3 separate regions of the Homo sapiens genome follow, and all the other regions are linked to region 3. The links are contacts of gene promoters, found by promoter capture Hi-C in human tissues and cell types (Jung and others, 2019). All regions are on one chromosome and are shown on one strand. Each heading gives the region's core, a stretch centred on a gene start or on the middle of the fragment in contact. The rest is flanking DNA. Distances are from core to core; before and after follow the strand shown. Region 1 overlaps ZNF763 (zinc finger protein 763). Region 2 overlaps ZNF700 (zinc finger protein 700). Region 3 holds the start of ZNF491 (zinc finger protein 491).

What was found. The method cuts DNA at HindIII sites, captures the fragments that hold promoters and counts their contacts. A contact is called where the count stands out against the background at its distance.
Region 1: a contact is called between a fragment that was not itself captured here and the fragment with the promoter of ZNF491 in region 3, in 4 of the 25 tissues and cell types used here (bladder, lymphoblastoid cells, mesenchymal stem cells and 1 more).
Region 2: a contact is called between a fragment that was not itself captured here and the fragment with the promoter of ZNF491 in region 3, in 8 of the 25 tissues and cell types used here (adrenal gland, aorta, bladder and 5 more).

What each region holds. Positions count from the first base shown.
Region 1 is chr19:11,979,063-11,983,726 of GRCh38, forward strand. ZNF763 (zinc finger protein 763) reads left to right here. Exons shown (of 4, transcript NM_001367172.2): 4 at 1-1,555. The coding sequence ends at 47. It also overlaps a transcript of ZNF69 not described here. Among named protein-coding and RNA genes, the nearest start is that of ZNF433-AS1, 6.2 kb to the right of the region's middle. The HindIII fragment of the contact is 4,224 bases long and covers 1,077-4,664 here.
Region 2 is chr19:11,945,926-11,950,595 of GRCh38, forward strand. ZNF700 (zinc finger protein 700) reads left to right here. Exons shown (of 4, transcript NM_144566.3): 2 at 1,256-1,382; 3 at 1,589-1,649; 4 at 2,351-4,670. The coding sequence ends at 4,328. It also overlaps a transcript of ZNF69 not described here. Among named protein-coding and RNA genes, the nearest start is that of ZNF763, 17 kb to the right of the region's middle. RefSeq lists a silencer at 3,764-3,993. The HindIII fragment of the contact is 4,250 bases long and covers 1-3,649 here.
Region 3 is chr19:11,796,370-11,800,772 of GRCh38, forward strand. It overlaps ZNF491 (zinc finger protein 491), which reads left to right and starts at 2,154. Exons shown (of 3, transcript NM_152356.4): 1 at 2,154-2,358. RefSeq lists a silencer at 1,146-1,315 and enhancers at 1,409-1,920, 2,146-2,245, 2,256-2,415. The HindIII fragment of the contact is 4,685 bases long and covers 1-3,810 here.

The sequences.
Region 1 (4,664 bases), core at 1,939-4,438, 180 kb after region 3:
AGTTTTCAAACACACCTAAGAATGCGCTCTGGAGAAAGACCTTATAAATGTTAGATATGTGGGAAAGGCCTTTATTCTGCCAAGTCATTTCGAAGACATGAAAAAACTCACACTGGAGAGAAACCCTATAAATGCATGCCATGTGGTAAAGCCTTCAATCTTTCCAGTTCCTTTCAGTATCATGAAAGGACTCACACTGGAGAGAAACCCTATGAGTGTAAGCAATGTGGGAAAGCCTTCAGATGTGCCCCACACCTTCGAAGGCATGGTAGGACTCACTGGAGAGAAACCCTATGAGTGTAAGGAATGTGGGAAAGCCTTCAGATCTGCCTCACACCTTCAAATTCATGAAAGGACACAAACACACATAAGAATACACTCTGGAGAAAGACCTTATAAATGTAAGACATGTGGGAAAGGCTTTTATTCTCCCACGTCATTTCAAAGACATGAAAAAACTCACACTGCAGAGAAACCCTATGAATGCAAGCAATGTGGTAAAGCCTTCAGTAGTTCCAGTTCCTTTTGGTACCATGAAAGGACTCACACTGGAGAGAAACCCTATGAGTGTAAGCAATGTGGGAAAGCCTTCAGATCTGCCTCAATCCTTCAAATGCATGCTGGGACTCACCCTGAAGAGAAGCCCTACGAGTGTAAGCAATGTGGGAAAGCCTTCAGATCTGCCCCACACCTTCGAATCCATGGTAGAACTCACACTGGAGAGAAACCCTATGAGTGTAAGGAATGTGGGAAAGCCTTCAGATCTGCCAAGAACCTTCGAATTCATGAAAGGACACAAACACACGTAAGAATGCACTCTGTAGAAAGACCTTATAAATGTAAGATATGTGGGAAAGGCTTTTATTCTGCCAAGTCATTTCAAATACCTGAAAAATCTTACACTGGAGAGAAACCCTATGAGTGTAAGCAATGTGGGAAAGCCTTTATTTCTTTCACTTCTTTTCGATAACATGAAAGGACTCACACTGGAGAGAAACCCTATGAGTGTAAGCAATGTGGAAAAACCTTCAGATCTACCTCACACCTTCGAAAACATGGTAGGACTCACACTGGATAGAAACCAAAGCAGGTGAATCACCTGAGGTCAGGAGTTCAAGACTGGCCTGATCAATATGATGAAACCCCTGTCTCTACTAAAACTACAAAAATTGGCCAGGCGTGGTGGCCTGCTTCTGTAATCCTAGCTAGTTGGGAGGCTGGCACAGGAGAATCGCTTGAATCTGGGGGGCAGAGGTTGCAGTGAGCCAAGATTGTGCCATTGCACTCTAGCCTGGGCAACAGGAGCAAAACTCCGTCTCAAAAAAAAAAAAAAAAAAGACTTGGCCTTGTGGTGAGGGGATGTCAGCTCTAGACTCCTGGAGCTGTTTTTGCCTTATTCTCTAAAGACTAAAATATTTCATAAAATGTATGGGTGCTGTTTACCAGAAAGTACGTTGGGTAAAACATAGAAATTCATTTATACCTTAGAAAGCTATTTTTTTCAGGTTGGTTTAGTGAGTCACAGGAAGCTAATAAATTACAATAATAATGTAAATTGTCTAAATACAGCCTTTTCTTTCTCTGATAATGTGCTGTTGATACTAACTTGTCAACAGCCTGTTTATTTCAGCCATGTAAAGTTAATGGCAACATGGAAAAGTCACTTTTATATGTTATGCAATGGCATGGAAAAATTCATTTTCATTAAGGTTCCAATGAAGCTGCTCTTCAGAAACGCTTATTTAAAACTCCCTAAGGTCAAAGTCCAGGCATCACGGGATGCAGCATCAATCACTGACCAAACCCTGTCTGTGTGTGGAGATGACATACCCAGTCCCAGATAATGTATCCACATCAGTGAAGGGTGGAATCATTGATTGTCAGATCACACAGCATGATTCACAGCAGGGAAGACAGGGCAGTGACAGAGGTGGGGGCACCTGAGCAGGTACGGTGGCTCACACCTGTAATCTTAGCACTTTGGGAGGCCAAGGAGAGTGGATCACTTGAGGTCAGGAGTTCAAGACCAGCCTGGCCAACATGGTGAAACCTTAAGAAATAGATAAATTAGCTGGGCATCGTGGTGTAATCCCTGTAATCCCAGATACTCAGGAGGCTGAGGCAGGAGAATCGCTTGAGCCTGGGAGGTGGTTGTTACACTGAACTGAGATCACACCATTGCACTCTCCAACCTAGTCGACAGAGCAAGACTCTGTCTCAAAATGAAAAAAACAAGAGTTGGGTGCACCTGAATCCAACCCCTGCCTTATCCTCCCTTGAAGGCCAAATACACCCTGACACTTTTAACCAAACAGTAGAAACAACACCATCCACTTGACCCCAAATGTGACTTTCCACAGGATGCAAGCACAATGTTGGAATGGCCAATGACAGTGACAATGAAAGTGCAGGGTGAGGGTGATGAACAGGACACACTGGAGAGCCTGACATTGGCCTAGACTATGGAGGTGTCTTGATGTTTCACAAAAAGCCCAAGGACCAACCCAAAGAGACACTGGAGCACAGGCCCAAAGGGTGTTCATATGCCAGGAAGGCTACTAATTTTAGAAGGCAGTGATGGTGCCTGTTTGAGTCCGGATGCTTTATAACTTCTGCTTTTCTGCATCTGCTTAGACAAAGAAATCTGCAGTTTTTGAGTTTCAGTGTTTAGAAGTAAGTTATTTTAGCAATCTACACACTTGTGGTTTATTCTGAGCTAACTTCAGACACACAGCTACAGATAGGGAATATCACGAGTATTTCCAAGGCTAAAAGTCTTCATGAAGTCAGTGGGACCCTCTCATGGGAGGGTTTTAAGACCCACAATCAAAAAGGTGGGGAAACATTAGAGTGGAAAGAGGGCAGCAGGTCAGGGGCCTTCCCCAGAGGTCTAACACACCCAACATTATTACCCTGGATGAAAACCAATACATATCATAACACCACACACACTCTTCAATGTTTCACAGACAAAATGAAATGTATTCAAAGCTAAGCTTCCAGAATTCCACTTTACACAATAAGGTTTTAATATCACTCTGTGTTGATGTTAGGCAATTACTAAATAGCATTTTCTGGTTATCTATGGAAAATACCTTGATTTCTGGGATATGAAAATGCTCATTTTTAGATATGCTTGTTTTTGAACTTTTTTTAATAAAATAAGGTGAGAAAACAGGAAAAAAATTTTCAGATCAAGGAACTTAGGCGAATTAATAGGAGAAAAGTCATACAAATTTATTTAACATGTATATATGGGAGCCTTCAGAATGAGGACCCACCCAACAATAAGACAAAAAAGCTTACATACCATTCTGAGGCCAGGAAAAATGCAGACTTGGCATGGCCAAAAAAATTCCAGGTTTGGTGGGGAAGTCATTTTTAATGGCAAGACAGATTATGCTAAAGGAAAGGAAGAAGCTTGGCTAGCAAAGGAGACCTTGTTATGTAGATGAAGGCTCCCTCAGAGAGAATAGGTGGGAAATGCTGCTTTTCAGACTTTTATTTAGAATTTTAAGTAATAGAGTCAGGATTATGCTGTGTTGCCCAGGCTGTTCTCTAATTCTTTGTCTCAAGCAGTCCTCACAGCTCAGTCTCCCAAAGTGCTAGGATTCCAGGCATGAGTCACCATGTCCAGACAGGGTTTGTCCCCTTGTAAAGAATTATTCATTGCTGGGCACAGTGATTCACAGTGACGTCTGCCTGGCATCTGCCTGTAAAGGAAGCATGGCACCAGCATCTGCTCAGCTTCTGGTGAAGGCCTCAGGAAGCTTTCAATCATAGCGGAAGGTGAACGGGGAGCAGGCAGTCACATGGCGAAAGCAGGAGTGAGACAGAGAGAGTGGTGTAGGAAGGTGCAGCTCACTAGAACTCACTGATTATCACAAAGACAGCAACAAGCCATGAGAGAAACAAGCCATAGGTCCCCCTGACCCAAACAACTCCCATCAGGACTCACCTCCAACACTGGGGATTGCAGTTCCTCATGACATTGGGTGGGAACATACATTCAAACTATCACGTGACAATATTACTTCCCTCAGTTTATTAAAGAACAAGTGTTTCTAGCTCTTCAGTGCTGTTCAGTGATTTGGAATATGGACAGGGAAAACTTTGATAAATCAGGAATGGCTGCAGTGAGCCATGAACATAGAATCTAATAATTTTTAAACTAATTTTATAATAGCTGGGCATGGTGGCTCATGCCTGTGGTTCTAGCACTTTGAGAGGCCAAGGTGGGTGGATGACTTGAACCCAGGAGTCTGAGAACAGCCTGGGCAACATGGTGAAACCCTATCTCTACAAACTTTTTAGCCAGGATGGTGACATGCACCTGTAATCCCAGCTACTTGAGAGGCTGCAGTAGGAGAATCACCTGAACCCAAGAGGTTGAGGCTGCAGTGAGCTGTGATCATGCCATTGCACTCCAGCCTGGGTGATAGAGTGAGACCCTCATCTCCAAAAAAAACCCCATAATTTTATAATCAGGACTATTTTTTATGGATCTGTATTTTAAGAAAAAAATGGAAAGACCAGATCATTGAAGATCAGTACAAAAATCTCAGGAATAATCTAAGGTAAGTTTCCCTCACAAGATAAAGCATTCTCTCTCTAGAAAATCTTATACTGCCTGAAAATGTTTTGGTTTTTTTGGAGACAAGAGT
Region 2 (4,670 bases), core at 275-2,774, 150 kb after region 3:
TTGCCGAGACTCGTGTGGCTTCGATTATATCAATAGTCTTTTTGGATAAGGGGGTGACCGGGGTGGTTACTACTGAATATTCAGCACCAGTATCGACAAGAAACTCTATGTCCTTGTCCCTGACTGTCATCCTGACCATGGGCTCGTTAGGGGCACCTGAGCCTGGTCCCCCTTAGTCCAGTAGCCCTTCTGCCAGATTAAACAAGGCCCTTTCATCCTTGCCTGAGACCTCTGGCTTGGAGCCATTTTGTTTCTTCTTTAACTGGGGGCACTTGTCTTTCCAGTCTTAGATCGTAAATGAGCTGCCAAGGGAGGGGTTTCTCCCGCAGCTTCACATTCTCTCTTGTCTGTTCTGGGTGGTCTAGGGGTGTATCTGTCCAGAGGAGGCACAGGTGCTGTGGGCTCAGGAGTGGGGAGTCTCTCTTCTAGGTAAGGACGGGGGGCATTGCTGTGCCATTTCCTGCCATGGGTCCTCTGACATTGGGTCAGATAGAACTTTAGGAGCTGACTTCCCTTGGCGGGTGGGGAGAGATCCCTCATTGGCTATCTGTCCCTTTGCCACTAACACTGCTGCTGCCTGTCCTCTCAACCACTGTGGGGGGTCTAAAACCAGCTGTAACTAAGTGTCTGTGTACAGGAACTTGTCTGGATACCCTGGCTTACAGGTAATCTTGTGCCATACCTTTGAAATAAGGGACCTATCCAGGCTTCCTTCTGATGGCCAACCCACCTCTAATGCTGGCCAGTCTGTCTCACACAAAGTTCTAAGTTTTCCTGGTGTTATAGTAACTCCATAGTCTCCCTTAAATCCCTTTTTGAAATTTTTTATAACATAGTTCCTAGTGGGGTGGGCTTACTTTGTGTCTGACCCATTTTTCTTTCGAGACAAGACAACACTCACACTACAAGAGGGAAAGGGTAAAGGTCACTCACGCGTGGTGGTACATGCCTATAATCCCAGCTACTCGGGAGGCTGAGGCAGGAGAATCGCTTGAACCCCGGTGGTGAGCCAATATCACGCCATTGTACTCCAGCCTGGGCAACAAGAGTGAAACTCTGTCTCAAAAAATAAATAAATAAATAAATTGCTTTATGGAAGAAAGTAAGTATAGATGGAGAGAAAGGGATCTGATAACCGAAGCAGGGAATAAATGTTTGGAGTCCACAGCATCCTGAGAACTTCTTGGGAATAGAGTCTAGGCCTCCAGTGCTGTCACTCTCACCCATCTTCCTCTACACATGTGAGATGTTTCAGGACCCAGTGGCCTTTGAGGATGTGGCTGTGAACTTCACCCAGGAAGAGTGGACATTGCTGGATATTTCCCAGAAGAATCTCTTCAGGGAAGTGATGCTGGAAACTTTCAGGAACCTGACCTCTATAGGTAAGGATGACAATATTCCTTCCGTCAGTGCATTAGCAAACCAGTGTTTCTAGCTCATGAATGCTGTTGAGTGATTTTGAACATAGACAGGAAATACCTTGATGAATAAATGAGGCATGGCTGCAGTAAATCATGGGCACAGAATCTAATAATTTTTTCACAATTTTATACTGCTTCAGGACTATTTTTCTGTGTCTGTATTTTAGGAAAAAAATGGAGTGACCAGAACATTGAATATGAGTACCAAAACCCCAGAAGAAGCTTCAGGTAATTTGCATTTCCAAGAGAAAGCAGTGTCTCTCTGCACAATCTTAGAATATGAGAATATGTTGAAGAGAAGTAAAACAAAGAACTAAATCCAGCATCAAATTCATTTCTTCTTAGAATATTTTCTCAAAAAACATATATTTAAACGTGACTGAGGCTGAGGGCTCACTCCTGTAATCCCAGTCCTTTGAGAAGTGGAGATAGGAGGATAGCTTGAGGCCATCAGTTCCAGAACAGCCTGTGCAACATAACGAGACCACATATCAACAACAGCAAAAAATTAGCTGGGCATTGTGGTGTGTATGCATCGGTAGTCCCAGCTACTCAGGAGGCGAAGGCAGGAGGATCACTCGAGACTTCAGGAGTTAAAGGCTGCAGTAAGCTATGATGATATCACTGTACTCCAGCATGGGCAACAGGACAAGAACTGGACTCAAAAGAAAAATGACATACAGTATTTAGTAATTGTAAAATAGTTTACATGGGAATACTATTAAGAAGCCCCTTATGAATATTTTTTTAAACAATAGGTATGGCTGGGTCATCTTGTAGAACATGTCCAGTCACCTTCAAACGATTCAGACAGGGCAGAAAGCCTACACTTTGATGGACAGTGTTAAAAATGCAAGTGCAATACTTGTTGATTAATATAGAAGTACTTGTAAACAAACCCTTCATGATGTGTTTCTCATGTTTTACAGGAGTCTCATAGAAGAGAAAGTCAATGAAATTAAAGAAGACAGTCATTGTGGAGAAACTTTTACCCAGGTTCCAGATGACAGACTGAACTTCCAGGAGAAGAAAGCTTCTCCTGAAGTAAAATCATGTGACAGCTTTGTGTGTGCAGAAGTTGGCATAGGTAACTCATCTTTTAATATGAGCATCAGAGGTGACACTGGACACAAGGCATATGAGTATCAGGAATATGGACCAAAGCCATATAAGTGTCAACAACCTAAAAATAAGAAAGCCTTCAGGTATCGCCCATCCATTAGAACACAAGAAAGGGATCACACTGGAGAGAAACCCTATGCTTGTAAAGTCTGTGGAAAAACCTTTATTTTCCATTCAAGCATTCGAAGACACATGGTAATGCACAGTGGGGATGGAACTTATAAATGTAAATTTTGTGGGAAAGCCTTCCATTCTTTCAGTTTATATCTTATCCATGAAAGAACTCACACTGGAGAGAAACCATATGAATGTAAACAATGTGGTAAATCCTTTACTTATTCTGCTACCCTTCAAATACATGAAAGAACTCACACTGGGGAGAAGCCCTATGAATGTAGCAAATGTGATAAAGCATTTCATAGTTCTAGTTCCTATCATAGACATGAAAGAAGTCACATGGGAGAGAAGCCTTATCAATGCAAAGAATGTGGAAAAGCATTTGCATATACCAGTTCTCTTCGTAGACATGAAAGGACCCACTCTGGGAAAAAACCGTATGAATGTAAGCAATATGGGGAAGGCTTATCCTATCTTATAAGTTTTCAAACACACATAAGAATGAACTCTGGAGAAAGACCTTATAAATGTAAGATATGTGGGAAAGGCTTTTATTCTGCCAAGTCATTTCAAACACATGAAAAAACTCACACTGGAGAGAAACGCTATAAATGCAAGCAATGTGGTAAAGCCTTCAATCTTTCCAGTTCCTTTCGATATCATGAAAGGATTCACACTGGAGAGAAACCCTATGAGTGTAAGCAGTGTGGGAAAGCCTTCAGATCTGCCTCACAGCTTCGAGTGCACGGTGGGACTCACACTGGAGAGAAACCCTATGAATGTAAGGAATGTGGGAAAGCCTTCAGATCTACCTCACACCTTCGAGTGCATGGTAGGACTCATACTGGAGAGAAACCCTATGAATGTAAGGAATGTGGGAAAGCCTTCAGATATGTGAAGCACCTTCAAATTCATGAAAGGACAGAAAAACACATAAGAATGCCCTCTGGAGAAAGACCTTATAAATGTAGTATATGTGAGAAAGGCTTTTATTCTGCCAAGTCATTTCAAACACATGAAAAAACTCACACTGGAGAGAAACCCTATGAATGCAACCAATGTGGTAAAGCCTTCAGATGTTGCAATTCCCTTCGATATCATGAAAGGACTCACACTGGAGAGAAACCCTATGAGTGTAAGCAATGTGGGAAAGCCTTCAGATCTGCCTCACACCTTCGAATGCATGAAAGGACTCACACTGGAGAGAAACCCTATGAGTGTAAGCAATGTGGGAAAGCCTTCAGTTGTGCCTCAAACCTTCGAAAGCATGGTAGGACTCACACTGGAGAGAAACCCTATGAGTGTAAGCAATGTGGGAAAGCCTTCAGATCTGCCTCAAACCTTCAGATGCATGAAAGGACTCACACTGGAGAGAAACCCTATGAATGTAAGGAATGCGAAAAAGCATTCTGTAAATTCTCTTCTTTTCAAATACATGAAAGGAAGCACAGAGGAGAGAAGCCCTATGAATGTAAGCATTGTGGGAATGGATTCACATCTGCCAAGATTCTTCAAATACATGCAAGAACACACATTGGAGAGAAACACTATGAATGTAAGGAATGCGGAAAAGCATTCAATTATTTTTCTTCCTTGCATATACACGCAAGGACTCATATGGGAGAGAAGCCATATGAATGTAAGGATTGTGGGAAAGCATTCAGCTAGCCTGGTTCCTTTTATGGACATGAATAGACTCACACTGGAAGGAAGCACTATGAATGCAAGCAATGTGGCAAAACTTTCACATTTTCCAGTTCTTTTCGATATCATGAAAGGACTCACACTGGGGAGAAACCCTATCAATGTAAGCAGTGTGGGAAAGCCTTCATTCCTTTTACTTCTTTTCAATGTCATGAAAGGACTCACACGGGAGAGAAACCCTATGAGTGTATTCTAGTTCCGTTTGATATCATGAAAGGACTTACACTGGAGTGAAACCCTATGAATGTAAGCAATGTGGGAAAGCCTTCAGATGTGCCTCGCACCTTCAACGGCATGGAAGGGTTC
Region 3 (4,403 bases), core at 904-3,403:
AACCAACTTTTTGTTTCGTTTATCATTTGTGTTGTTTTTTAGTCTTGATTTTGTTTAATTCTGCTCTGATCTTTGTTATTTCTTTTCTGCCAACTTTGGATTTGTTTTGTTCTTGTTTTCCTAGTTCCATGGGGTACCATGTTAGGTTGTTAATTTGTTACTTTTTTGACAGAGGCATATAATTCTATAAACTTCCCTCTTAGCATGACTTTTCCTATATCCCAGAGGTTTTGATATGTTGTGTTGCCATTTTTGTTCATTTCAAACAAAATTTTTATTTTCTGTTTTTATTTCTTCTTTGACTCAGAGATCATTCAGGAGCACATTGTTTAATTTCCATGTATTTATACAGTTTTCAAAGTTCCTCTTGGTATTGATTTTTAGTTTTATTCAGCAGTCTGAGAAGATGCTTGAAATGATTTTGACTTTAAAATTTGTCGAGACTAGTTTTGTGGCCTAACATATGGTCTACCTTGGAGAATGTTTCACGTACTGATGAGAAGAATGTATATTCTGCAGTTGTTGGGTTCTGTAAACGTCTGTTAGCTCCATTTGGTCCAAAGTCCAACTTAAGTCCAATTTTTTTGTTGATTGTCTGTCTTGATGATATATCTACTACTGTGTGTGAGGTGCTGAAGTCCCATACTATTATTGTATTGCTATCTATATCTTTCTTTAGGTCTAGAAATATTTGCTTTATTAATTTGGCCTCTCCAATGTTGGATGCATATATATTTAGTATTACTATATTATCTTGCTGAATTGATTCTGTTATCAGTATCTCATGATCTTCTTTGTCTTTTTGTACTGTTTTTTATTTAAAGTCTATTTTATCTGATACAACTATCACAACTCTTGCTGAAGCACAGTGGCGAGATCATAGGTCACTGAAGCTTCAAACTCCTGGGCTCAAGATCTTCCCACCTCAGCCTCCCGAGTAGCTGGGACTACAGGTTCAGGACACCACGCACTGCTAATTTTTAAATTTTTAGTACAGACGAGGTGTGGCTCCGTTTTCCAGGATGATGAACTCCTGGGTTCAAGCAGTCCTCCCGCTTCAGCCTCCAAAAGGGTTGGGATTATAGGCGTGAGCCCCCGCACCCTGCCTGCAAGTCTTTTAATTCACTTCAATTATCTTAGAATTTTCCTTCCCCACTTTATACATACGTACAGTGGAACTGAGGGTGTTTGTCTCAGGTAACCGATCAATGAAGTGAATAACCTGTAGGGGGCAGCAGAGCCTAAGGCCAGTGACACCCTGCTGAGGCCAGTCTGGAGCCGGCAAAGGGAGGGAAAGGGAGCTCCCCTGGGTGTTTCCCGGGCAGCCTGCCCTCTACTGCAGGTGGCCTCCAGCTGCTCAGAACAGCTGCGGAAGGAATGTGGATCCTGAGAAGCTACAGAGCCCTGGAAAGCAGGAGACTCACGTGCAGGTGCACTTTGTGTAGGGGGGTTGGGGGGAGGTTCTGTCCTTACTGGGGCTGTACCTAGAGCCTAGGGACGTTTTGCGGGGGCAGTGTTTGGTTTTTACGTGCAAAGGGTCCCGGCGACAGACTGTAATTTGTACATACAAAGATAATCTGTGAAGATCAGGCTCAGTAAGATTTGTCTGACATGTCACCTGGAGAAAGGGTTTGTGAAGGTAATAGTTTACTTAGGTTAGAAGCTTAAACTGACCCCAGGTGAGAACTTCTGCTGGTGAAAATGAAGTCTAGGGGGAGGAAGCGGTTCCATATTCAGGGGTGGGACGGGGGGAGTGTGAGGAAGTCTCATCCCCAATTCCCGCCCTGTAGAGGACACCTGCCTCTCCCTCCTGGTGCAGTCTTGCCTGGCCTGGCCTGGCCTGGATTTCCTTCCTGCTATGAGGCAAAGGAATGACTCCATTGAACACCGAGTCTGGAATTCCCAGCACACATTTCTGAAAGATCGAGGAAGCTAACAGTGCCCCTTCTAACAATAAGTAGCAAGTTTGGCTGAAATGCAGATAGCCAACGACCAGGGCGCAGGGAGTGAGCTTAGCCTTAGAAAGGCTGTAGCTAGGATTAATCAGCCGGGCTCTGCAGGGCTCCGTTACCCAGGGCTTACCCTGTCACTCAGGGCTGAGGGGCGGAGCCTGGAACCCCATCCAATCAGGGGCCCTGGGACGGGGCCCTGCCAACTGTCAATCCGGGGAAGCAGAAGGCCGCACTCAGAGTCTCTGCACTCCTTTGTTGCTGGGGTCCGTTGCGTTCTGCATCCAGTCCTTGCTGCTCCGAGAGGCCCCAGGTGCCTCCGCCACGGCTCCTGTGACGCTGTCACCTGCGCTGTGACCTGCTCCGGAGTCATAAAGAGGACGCCGGGACACCAAGAAGCAGGGAAATGGTAAAGTGCCCGGCCTAGCGTCCAGATACGTGGAAGAGGGGCTGGGTGGAACCAACAGGATCCTGCTGTGGCGGGACCCAGGCCTCCGCTCGGGCGACCCCGGCGATTGGGACCCGCGTCCCCCATGGCGTGGCTTGGCCCTCGGTCCGCTCGGCCGCCAGGTGGGGCTGGGCCCGCAGCTGGGACCCCGGGCGTCCTGTCCCGTCCCTACGCGGCGACTGCGGCCCCGGCCCCGGAGTCCTCTCTGGGCAGCTCCGCGCCCGCAGCCCGGCGTCTTCCCAGATTGTGCGGGGGCCACGGGAGGGTCATGGGGGGTCGGATGTGTCCCGCCTTTCTTCTGCTAAAAATTAAACTGAGGCTCTGTTAACAGTTAAAGAGTTTGTTGGAGCAACAGCGATTCCGAGTGAGAAACACCCGGTCATGGCTTGTGATTGAAGAAAAGGCTTTTATAAGTTGCATGAGGAGGCAAACAGGATTAAATACTTGATTAGTTACAGTGATGCTGTCGCCGTATGTGGACTTGTCAACCTGAAATAAAAGAATCAGATTCCAGTTTTTTAAAGTTTACTCAAGCAAGAAGCTGGGAATGGCCCATTTGGGAAAACACAGGATCCACGGAAATGGGCTCAGTGTTTCAAATTTAAAAGTTTAAGTTCTTGCTTATATAGGCAAGAAATTTAACAGGATTACAACGTTTTTTATACAAGGCTAGTTTGTGAGGCACAACAATTTAATCAGAGTTTGGCCCGCCCCCCTCCCCCCGCCCCCATAGAGCTTTTTTTTTTTTTTCTTTACATTTGGGTTTCATTTCCTTTCCAATTTAAAAGAGTATATTTAACATTCCAGCGTAAGGCAAGGTGATGCCAGCGTGGACAACATGGCGAGACCCCGTCTGTACAAAATATTTTAAAAAATTAGTCGGGTATGGCCGGGCGCGGTGGCTCACGTCTACAATCCCAGCACTTTGGGAGGCCGAGGCGGGCGGATGACGAGGTCAGGAATTCGAGACCATCCTGGCCAACATGGTGAAACCCCGACTCTACCAAAAATACAAAAATTAGCTGGGCGTGGTGGCACGTGCCTGTAATCCGGCTACTCGGGAGGCTGAGGCAAGACAATCGCTTGAACGCAGGAGGCGGAGGTTGCGTGAGCCGAGATGGTGCCACTGCACTCCAGCCTGGCGACAGAGCGAGACTCTGTTAAAAAAAAAAAAAATTAGTCAGGTATGATGGCCGCTTCTGTAGTTAGTCTGGAGGCTGAGGCAGGAGAATTGCTTGAGCCCAGGAGGTGAAGGCTGCATCAACGACAGTATTGAATTTACAGCTAATAGGCAAGGTGAGGGAGAGGATGGAAGTTGGTTTAGTGTCAAGAATTAGGGAAGAGATTGTCAAACGTAGGGAAAAGGGACTTGATTGGATATCAGGTTTGGGGGAATTTTCTCTAAACTCCCTTAGAAGGGTTTTTGCTACCACAGGGCTCTGCAGGAAAAGGCCAAAGTCTACTCAAGAAGAGGGGGGCTCTGAGGAGCCTGACTAGTTTGATCAAAGAGGGAGTTTTTGGGACCCCTCTCCCAGCCTAGTTCTTCCCAGGTATGACAGTAAATCCCTAAATTTCTGGTTTTCTCCTCACATTCAAAAACACCAACTTCCCCTCGCCAATTGACATCCTTATCAATTATGTGTTTCCCATGCTACATTTGAAACAGCTGCCATATTTTATCATTTTTCCACAGACAAATGAATAGCACTATTTAAAAATGTTATCAACACCTCTGAAAATAAGGAAAACTTTTTTTTTTTTTTTTTTTTTGAGACAGTCTCACTGTGTCTGTTGCCCAGGCTGGAGTGCAATGGTGCTATCTTGGCTCACTGCAACCTCGGCCTCCTGGGTTCAAGCGATTCCCCTGCCTCAGCCTCCCAAGTAGCTGGGATTACAGGCATGTGCCGACATGCCCGGCAGATTTTTGTATTTTTAGTAGAGACACGGGAAAGAAAACATTTTTTAAAAATTTTAGTCCAGGCACAGTGACTCACTCCTGTAATCCC